Linked DNA regions of Homo sapiens: regions 2 and 3 are each linked to region 1. Evidence: promoter capture Hi-C in 16 types of primary human blood cells and fetal thymus (Javierre and others, 2016). All regions are on one chromosome and are shown on one strand. Each heading gives the region's core, a stretch centred on a gene start or on the middle of the fragment in contact. The rest is flanking DNA. Distances are from core to core; before and after follow the strand shown. Region 1 holds the start of TRIM69 (tripartite motif containing 69). Region 2 overlaps SPG11 (SPG11 vesicle trafficking associated, spatacsin). Region 3 overlaps SPG11 (SPG11 vesicle trafficking associated, spatacsin).

Region 1 (2,895 bases), core at 141-2,640:
TGTGAGGCTGAGGTGGGAGGACAGCTTGAGCTCAGAAATTTGAGATCAGCCTAGGCAACATAGTGAGACCCTGTCAGAAAGAAAAGAAAAAAGAAAAGAAAAGAAGGAAAGAAAGAGAAAGAGAAAGAAAGGGAGAAAGAAAGAAAGAGAGCAAGAGAGAAAGAAAGAGGAAAAAGAAAGGAAGAAAGAGAAAGAAACAGAGAGAGAAAGAAAGGGAGAAAGAAAACAGAAAGAGAGAGAAAGAAAGAAAGAGAAAGAAAAAAAGAAAGAGGAAAGAAGGAAGGAAGGAAGGAAGGAAGGAAAGAAGGAAGGAAGGAAGGAAGGAAGGAAGGAAGGAAGGAAGGGAGTAAAGCTGTGTTTCTCAACTGGGGAGTGATTCCAACCCCTGCCCCCAGGAGACATTTGGCAATGACTGGAGACATTTTTGTTATGACTGGGTTTGGTGGGGGGGGGGTGGCTACAGGCATCTAGTGTGTAAACGCCAGGGACACTGCTAAATATCCTAAAATTCACAGGACAGCCCCTCTAACGTAAGACTTAGCAGGCCCAAAATATCAATAGGGCTGAGGTTGGTAACCTCTGGTATAGAGCCAGCAAAATATCTTCTACAAGAGACAGGGAAGTGGGTAAAGCTTGGTTTGGGGATGAGGGGGTGGTTAGGGAAGAGTTTAGTAAAGAGATAATGACGGGGGTGTGGGGGAAGGGAAACTCCCATCCGAAGGGACAACATATACAAAGCTGCAGAAGCGTGACATATTTGGGCGATCCCAAACACTGGGGAAAGAGCTGTGGTCATTAAGTCTGGACAGCTAGGCAGGAGCTAGACGTGCAAGAAATCATATTGAGTTAGAGGAACTACTGTAAGAAAAACTGTTTGGCTCTGTGGTGGCTCTTTATAAGTCACTCAGGAGCACAGTGTTGGTACATCTCTCTGCGAGCTAAAACTGCTGAAGAAAGCTGTATGAAATGAAGCTTTTTTCATCCTGCTTTCTTAGGGCCTGGTGTTTCCCAGGCCTGTGTTACTGTCTCAGAGATAAAATCAGGGCTGCTTCATTGGAATATGAGAGGTGAACTAGCTCTCTATTAAAGCCACTCAGCTGGTGTCTTGATGGTGTGATGGGATCATGAACAGGGGTGAGGTGGTTATTTTTCATGAGTTAGGCTTAATATAGGCTGCTGCTGACGTGTATTTCCTCTTTCATAGAGCATCCTTAGTCCAGAAATGGGGAGCTATGAACCTTAAGATTAGACCACTAACTCGAATCTAAATGAGCTGCCCTTGTCTCCTACAAAAGAAAAGTTGGGCAGGTAGGGTATTCTAATGAGGGTTTCTCTTTCTCTTAAGCAAATGATGATCAAAGTTAACTGACAAACTGTCACGGAATCTGCCAGACCTCACTCTGGCCTTGCTGCTTCTCTCCAGCTCCTGAACTTTTCTTTCTTCCATCATGCTCTGAGCCCATTCCTTGAAAACTAAAAGGTCCCTGACTCCCAGTCTGCAGCCATCCTGGGCCTGCTGAGCTCTGATTCAAGTGCCTGCCTCTGCCCCTTGGTGGGCTGAAGCTTCATGGAGGTGAGTGACCCTTTTTTTTTTTAACTTAGCAGGGCTTCTAGGAATAGTGTGGAAAACAGGATCATAGAAGAGGATATGGATTTAGGAGCACAAAAGGAAATTCATGAAGGGAAGTATTTAACTTGTGACAGCTGGTAGCTACTATACTCTCTCCAAGCCTTGGAATAACTGATAATTTATACTAGAGAAGCTGGTAGGAAAGTAATGAAATCCACCAAAACATTTTGAGAAAAAATAAACTATATACTATATACAATTTACTTTCATTATCAATGTAATCATTTTATTTTAGATTTAAAAATTATTATGTATAACTTGGTTTGCTTACAATACCTTCACATTTGATTATTTTATATTTAAGGCAGAGTTGATACTTAGATAGTAAACATTTTTAATTGAATTCTTCCTTTAAGACCTCTTCAGAGCTAAAATAAAGGAAGTTATGTTCTTCTGAACTTAGTGTTTTCCTGATTGTCAAACAAAAGAAAATGGTTATTTACTACATGAAAGCTTGAAAAACTCACTAAGGGTTTTTCAGGGGCCCTTGAATCCTGAGTTATCATCCATTTCCACTAGTTTCCACTTCTTATAAAGTTTAATTTCATTATATTAATCATTAAGATCAGTTTCTAATTTCCTCTATCATAGGACCTTTAGGTTTGCTGCTACTCATCTCTGTGCTTAGCTATTGAAGCAAACAGGGCTATAAGCATTTTGTTTATAATTTCTAGGGCAAAAATAAACACTATTGCCTAAACCTACTATATTCTTATTACTTTAAGGCCAAGTCAGTGAAAATAGACACTTTTCCATAATAGTAAAAAAATTGTTTGTGTGATAGTGAGTTTCCCATTACTTCAGATGTTCAGGCAGAGGTTGGAAAGGAGTGAATTAAATGGCTTAAAATTTCTTTCAACTCTGGGAAGCTCCAAGAAGTCAGAAAGTTCAGAATCTTGCCTTCTTATGTGCAAATGGCTTGACTCGTGAAGCAGGAGTGTGTCTTGCTCTTAGGTTTAAGCTGGCTGTGCTATATAGTTTGTCTCTGTGGATGAACTGTATTTTTCTGCTCTCAAAGTTAATTCTTCATAAAAACTGCCCATCAAAGTTTAAAAATTACTTTGAAGGAATAAAGGTTGAAAAGCAACAAATGAACTCTCCTTAGATATCTTAACTATGATTTCAAAAATTTACAACACAAAACTTCTCAGGAAAAAAAAATCTCTGGTAAAAATTAAGGATTTCTTATGCAAGCTTCCATGGACTTCATAGCTCTTTGCCTTTTCTCTGCTCTTTGAGAATGTGCACAGTGAACTGAAGGAGGA
Region 2 (2,700 bases), core at 106-2,605, 89 kb before region 1:
CACACCAGTCAGAATGGCTATTATGAAAAAGTCAAAAAATAACAGGTGCTAGCGAGGTTGCAGAGAAAAGGGAAAGCTTATACAGTGCTGGTGGGAATGTAAATTAGCTCAGCCAATGTGGAAAGCAATTTGGCGATTTCTCAAAGAACTTAAAGCAGAACTATCATTCAACCCAGCAATCCCATTATTGGGTATATAACCAAAGGAATATAAATCATTCTACCATAAACATACATGCACACATATATTCCTCACGGCACTATTGACAATGGCAAAGATATGGAATCAACCTAAATGCCCATGATTGGCATTTAGGTTGGCAAACTAGTGTATTAGTAGTCTGTTCTCACACTGCTACAAAGATACTACCTGAGAAGGGAGGTTTAATTGACTCACAGTTCTGCATGGCTGGGAGGCCTCAGGAAACTTACAATCATGGCAGAAAGTGAAGGGGAAGCAAGGCATGCCTTACATGGTGGCAGAGAGAGTACAGGGGAAAACTGCCACTTTTAAACCATCAGATCTCTTGAGAACTCACTATCAGGAGAACAGCACTGGGGAAACTGCTCCCATGATGCAATCACCTCCCTCCCTTGACACATGGGGATTACAATTCAAGATGAGATTTGGGTGGGGACACAGAGCCAAACCATATCAACTGGATAAAGAATTTGTGATTCATATACATGATGGAATACTATGCAGCCATAAAAAAGAGCGAGGTCATGTCCTTTGCAGCAACACGGATGGAGCTAGAGGCCATTATCCTAAGTGAACTAATGCAGGAACAGAAAATCAGATACTGGGTGTTCTCACTTATAAGTGGGAGCTAAACACAGTACACATGAACAAAAAGAAGAGAACAACAGACACTGGGGCTTACTTGAGGGTGGAGGGTAGGAGGAAGGTGAGGATTGAAAACTGCCTATCAGGTACTATGCTTATTACCTGAGTGATGAAATAATCTGTACACCAAACCCCCATGATATGCAATTTACCTATGTGACAAACCTGCAAATGTACCCCTGAACCTAAAATAAAAGTTAAAAAAATTTTAAAAAGGTGAAATAACAACCCAAAGAACGGGAGAAAGTATTTGTAAATCATGTATGTCATAGAGTCTAGCATCCAGAATATATACACAACTCTTAGAACTCAATAAAAAGACAACCTAATTTGACAGACATTTCTCCAAAGACGACACACAAATAGCCAATAAGCATATGAAAACATGTTCAACATGTTTAGTCATTAGGAAAATACAAATGAAAACCACAATGAGATGCCATTTCATTTTGACTTCACACTGACTAGGATGGCTGCAATAAAAAACAAACAATAACAAGTGTTAAGCTAAGATGTGCAGCTAGCAGAACCCTCATACATTGCTGATGGGAATGTAAAATGGTGCAGTCACTGTGGAAGTTTGGGGATTCCTCAAAAATAATAAATGACCCAGTAATTCCACAGCTAGGTATATACCCCAGAGAAATGAAAACATATGTCAACACAAAAACTTGTACACAAATGTCCACAGCAGGATTATTCATAATGGCTAGAAAGTGGAGACAACCCAAATGTCCATCAGCTGATGAATGGATAAACAAAATGCAGTATATATTGATACAATGGAATATTCAGCCATAAAAAGGAATGAAGTTGTAGTGACATGCTACAACATGGATGAACTTTGAAAACATGCTAGGTCAAAGATGCCTGTCACAAAGGTCACATATTTTATAATTCAATTTACATGAAATGTCCAGAATAGAAAAATCCAGTCAGAAAGTAGATTGGTGTTTAAGACTTGGAGACAACAGGAAATAGGGAGTGGCCACTAATGGTTATGGACTTTCTTTTTGAGGTGATGAAAATGTTCTAGAATTAGTGGTGATGGCTGCACAACTCTGAATATACCACAGGCCATTGAATTGTACATTTTAAAAGGGTGAATTTTATGGGTATGTGATTTATATCTCAATAAAGCTGTCATTTAAAGAAACTGGCACATAACATTATTAACTTCAGGGACTGTGAGTATAGCAGAAGGTACCCTGCCCTTGATTCTAGCTCCTGTCTTTATTAACATGGCTCTGGGTCACCCACTCAATCACTGAAAGCCTAAGTTTCTTCATCTGTAAAATAAAAAGAATATAAACAACCCAATCTGTCTCATATGGTTGTTTTGGGACCAAATTAGATATTCCATGTAAAAGAGTGTTTGTGAATTATAAAATCTTACATAAATTCAGGTTATGCCTCTTCTGAAGTTGGATCAGAATAGTAGGAAGCAGGCTGGGTGCAGTGGCTCACTCCTGTAATCCCAGCACTCTAGGACACAGCGGGTGAATCACTTGAAATTAGGAGTTAGAGACCAGCCATGGCCAACATGGCAAAACCCTGCCTCTACCAAAAAATACAAAAATTAGCTGGACATGGTGGCGCGTGCCTGTAGTCCCACCTACTGGGGAGGCTGAGGTGGGAGAATTGCTTGAACCTGGGAGGCGGAGGTTGCAGTGAGCTGAGATTGCACCACTGCACTCCAGCCTGGGCAATAAAGTGACACCCTGTGTCAAAAAAAAAAAAAAAAAAAAAGTAGGAAGCATAAGGTAGGAATAAAAGATCATTACTGTTCAAGCTTTCCATAGCTTATTTCCACTTCATTTAGTCTCATTAGCTTAATGTTGCCTCCATTTCCTG
Region 3 (2,964 bases), core at 60-2,559, 130 kb before region 1:
AACAAACTAAAGGGAAAAAATAATCTCTATATAACATATTCATTCCCCTCCCTGCCCCCGCCCAGCTTTTTTTTTTTTTTGAGACAAGGTCTCACTTTATCACCCAGGCTGGAGTGCAGTGGTATGATCTTGGCTCACTGCAGCCTCGACTTCCCAGGCTCAAGTAATCGTGTCTCAGCCACCCAAGTAGCTGGGACTACAGGAGCACGCCACCATGCCCAGCTAATTTTTTTTTTTTTTTTTTTTTTTTTGAGACGGAGTCTTGCTCTGTCACAGAGGCTGGAGTACACTGGCGCGATCTCAGCTCACTGCAACCTCTGCCCCCTGGGTTCAAACAATTCTTCTGCCTCTGCCTCCTGAGTAGCTGGGATTACAGGCGTACGCTACCATGCCCGGCTAGTTTTTGTATTTTTAGTAGAGACGGGGTTTCAGCATGTTGGCCAGGCTGGTTTTGAACTCCTGACTTCAAGTGATCCACTCGCCTTGGCCTCCCAAAGTGCTGGGATTACAGGTGTGAGCCACCGCACTCGGTCATGCCCAGCTAATTTTTAAATTTTTTTTTTGTGGAGATGGAGGTTTCATCATGTTGCCCAGGCTGGTCTCAAACTCCTGTACTCAAGTGATCCACCCACCCTGGCCTCTCAAAAGGGCTGGAATTACAAATGTGAGCCACCGCACTTGGCTTCATTCACTTTAAACTGAAGATGACATAAATTTCTTTTCTTTTTTTTGAGACGGAGTCCCGCTCTGTTGCCCAGGCTGGAGTGCAGTGGTACAATCTCAGCTCACTGCAACCTCCGCCTCTCAGGTTCAAGTGATTCTCATGCCTCAGCCTCCCCAGTAGCTGGGATTACAGGCGTGCGCCAAGACGCCCAGTGAAGTTTTTTTAGTACAGATGGTGTTTCACCACGTTGGCCAGGCTGGTCTCGAACTCCTGACCTCAAGTGATCCGCCTGCCTCGGCCTCCCAAAGTGCTGGGATTACAGGAGTGAGCCACTGCACCGGGCCGAGATATAAAATTTTTAAATTCAGCCTTATCCTCTGCTCTTTAATCTAATGAAATACTTGAATATAGTTATATTTTAATATCAGCTGAGATCTAGACAATCCATAGATAATTCTGCTAAATTTAAAAATCAGTCCTATTTTGTCATAAAGTGCTATCCATACCTGACTGACACCCCCAGGAGAATACATTGTAGTAGCAAGGGCCAGGAGGGTATGTCCTTCCAATAGCATACTGCTTACACTGGCCTGATTGGTGGGAATCAAAATCTGAGCATTTGCAAGGCTAGCCTGGAAGATCAGTTTGGGATCTGGAAAATAAAAGACAGTGTTTTTCTCCTTAAGAGGGATAAATACTAAATTAAGGATTACATAAATGTGAGAACAATAACATAAATTTTTAACTCTATCCCCAGTAAAAAAAAAAAAAAAAAAAAAAAAAGGACTTCCTAAATTTAAAAGCAATGGGAAAACATCACAGAGGGAAAAAATGAAAGATTTGTCTACATAAAAATAAAAACTTCTGTTCAAAGAAAATTAAAAGGTAACAATGAACTGAGAGAAAAATTGTAACAAATGACAACCTAAAGAGTTGCTGAGTTTGTTCTCAACAAAGAGCTCATCCAAATCAATGCCAAAAATACTGACTCTAACAGATAAATGGGCAAAAGAAATAACCAATTTATGAAGGAGGAAATATAAATGCCTGACACATAAAACTATATAATTCACTAGCAACAAAGAAATGCAAATTAATTAGATGCCATATACTACCTATCCAATTAGCAGTAATTTAAAAAAACTCATCATCAAGCATTAGAGCTGGTCACAGTGAGTAGAGACTAGGACTTAAAATAAAATTGTACAACTCCCTTGGAAAGCAATCCGGTCCTACAGCAAGAACCTTAAACATGTGTAACCTTTGACCCAATAGTTTTATATCCCAAAACCTATCTGTGCTAAGAAAATAATCTGAAATAAGGACAGTTTTATATTGAAATATATTCAAGACTATTATTTATAATAGAAAAAAATGGAAAATGCCCTCATTGTCGGAAAATGAGAGAACAGAAAATTAAATAATGGTATATCCATACAATGAAATATTATGTAAACATTTAAAATGGTCACTGTCTTTTTTTTTTTTTTTTTTTGAGATGGAGTCTCACTCTCTCACCCAGGCTGGAGTGGAGCTATCTTGGCTCACTGCAAGCTCCACCTCCCCAGTTTATGCCATTCTCCTGCCTCAGCCTCCCAAGTAGCCGGGACTACAGGCACCCGCCACCAAGCCGGGCTAATTTTTTTTTTGTATTTTTAGTAGAGACGGGGTTTCCCCGTGTTAGCCAGGATGGCCTCGATCTCCTGACCTCGTGATCTGCCCGCCTTGGCCTCTCAAAGTGCTGGGATTACAGGCATGAGCCACTGCGCCTGGCCTAAAATGGTCATTGTCTTTAAGAATGTGGGAAAATTCTGTTATAATATTACACACAAAAAAGCAGTATATAAAAACATAGATGTTTCTTGTTGTTCTACTAGCACTTAACAATAGTCTGTCACAAGGTAGGAGCTCAATAAATATTTGTTGGGTGAATGAAATACAATAGAGACTAAGTTTTTAAAAAGTACAGTGAAGATAACTGGAACAAAATACATTAAAATATTATCAGTGGTTACCTATGGGTGGTTATTTTCCTATGTACCTAGGCTATCTACCTATGGAGGTATTACTTTTTAATTAATTAATTATTTTTTAAAAAAGAGACAGGGTCTTGCTTTGTCAACTAGGCTGGAGTGCAGTGACACAATCTCTAATCCCTGGGCTCAAGTGATCCTCCCATCTCAGCCTCCCAAGTTGCTGGGACTACAGGAGCATGCCACCACAGCTAATTTTTAAAAATCTTTTGTAGAGACAGGGTCTTGCTATGTTGCCCAGGCTGGTCTTGAACTCCTATCCTCAAG

The links. The method cuts DNA at HindIII sites, captures the fragments that hold promoters and counts their contacts. A CHiCAGO score of 5 or more calls a contact.
Region 2: a contact is called between a fragment that was not itself captured here and the fragment with the promoter of TRIM69 in region 1, in 5 of 17 cell types (non-activated CD4 T cells, total CD8 T cells, naive CD4 T cells and 2 more). The highest score is 6.8, in non-activated CD4 T cells.
Region 3: a fragment that was not itself captured here is called in contact with the fragment with the promoter of TRIM69 in region 1 in 5 of 17 cell types (activated CD4 T cells, non-activated CD4 T cells, total CD4 T cells and 2 more); the score reaches 6.6 in activated CD4 T cells.

The regions. Positions count from the first base shown.
Region 1 is chr15:44,735,138-44,738,032 of GRCh38, forward strand. TRIM69 (tripartite motif containing 69) reads left to right here and starts at 1,391. Exons shown (of 7, transcript NM_182985.5): 1 at 1,391-1,573. The coding sequence starts at 1,568. The HindIII fragment of the contact is 591 bases long and covers 971-1,561 here.
Region 2 is chr15:44,645,939-44,648,638 of GRCh38, forward strand. All of the region lies in intron 7 of SPG11 (SPG11 vesicle trafficking associated, spatacsin), which reads right to left. Among named protein-coding and RNA genes, the nearest start is that of SPG11, 16 kb to the right of the region's middle. The HindIII fragment of the contact is 2,562 bases long and covers 75-2,636 here.
Region 3 is chr15:44,609,670-44,612,633 of GRCh38, forward strand. It overlaps SPG11 (SPG11 vesicle trafficking associated, spatacsin), which reads right to left. Exons shown (of 40, transcript NM_025137.4): 18 at 1,171-1,316. Among named protein-coding and RNA genes, the nearest start is that of SPG11, 53 kb to the right of the region's middle. The HindIII fragment of the contact is 6,165 bases long and covers 1-2,964 here.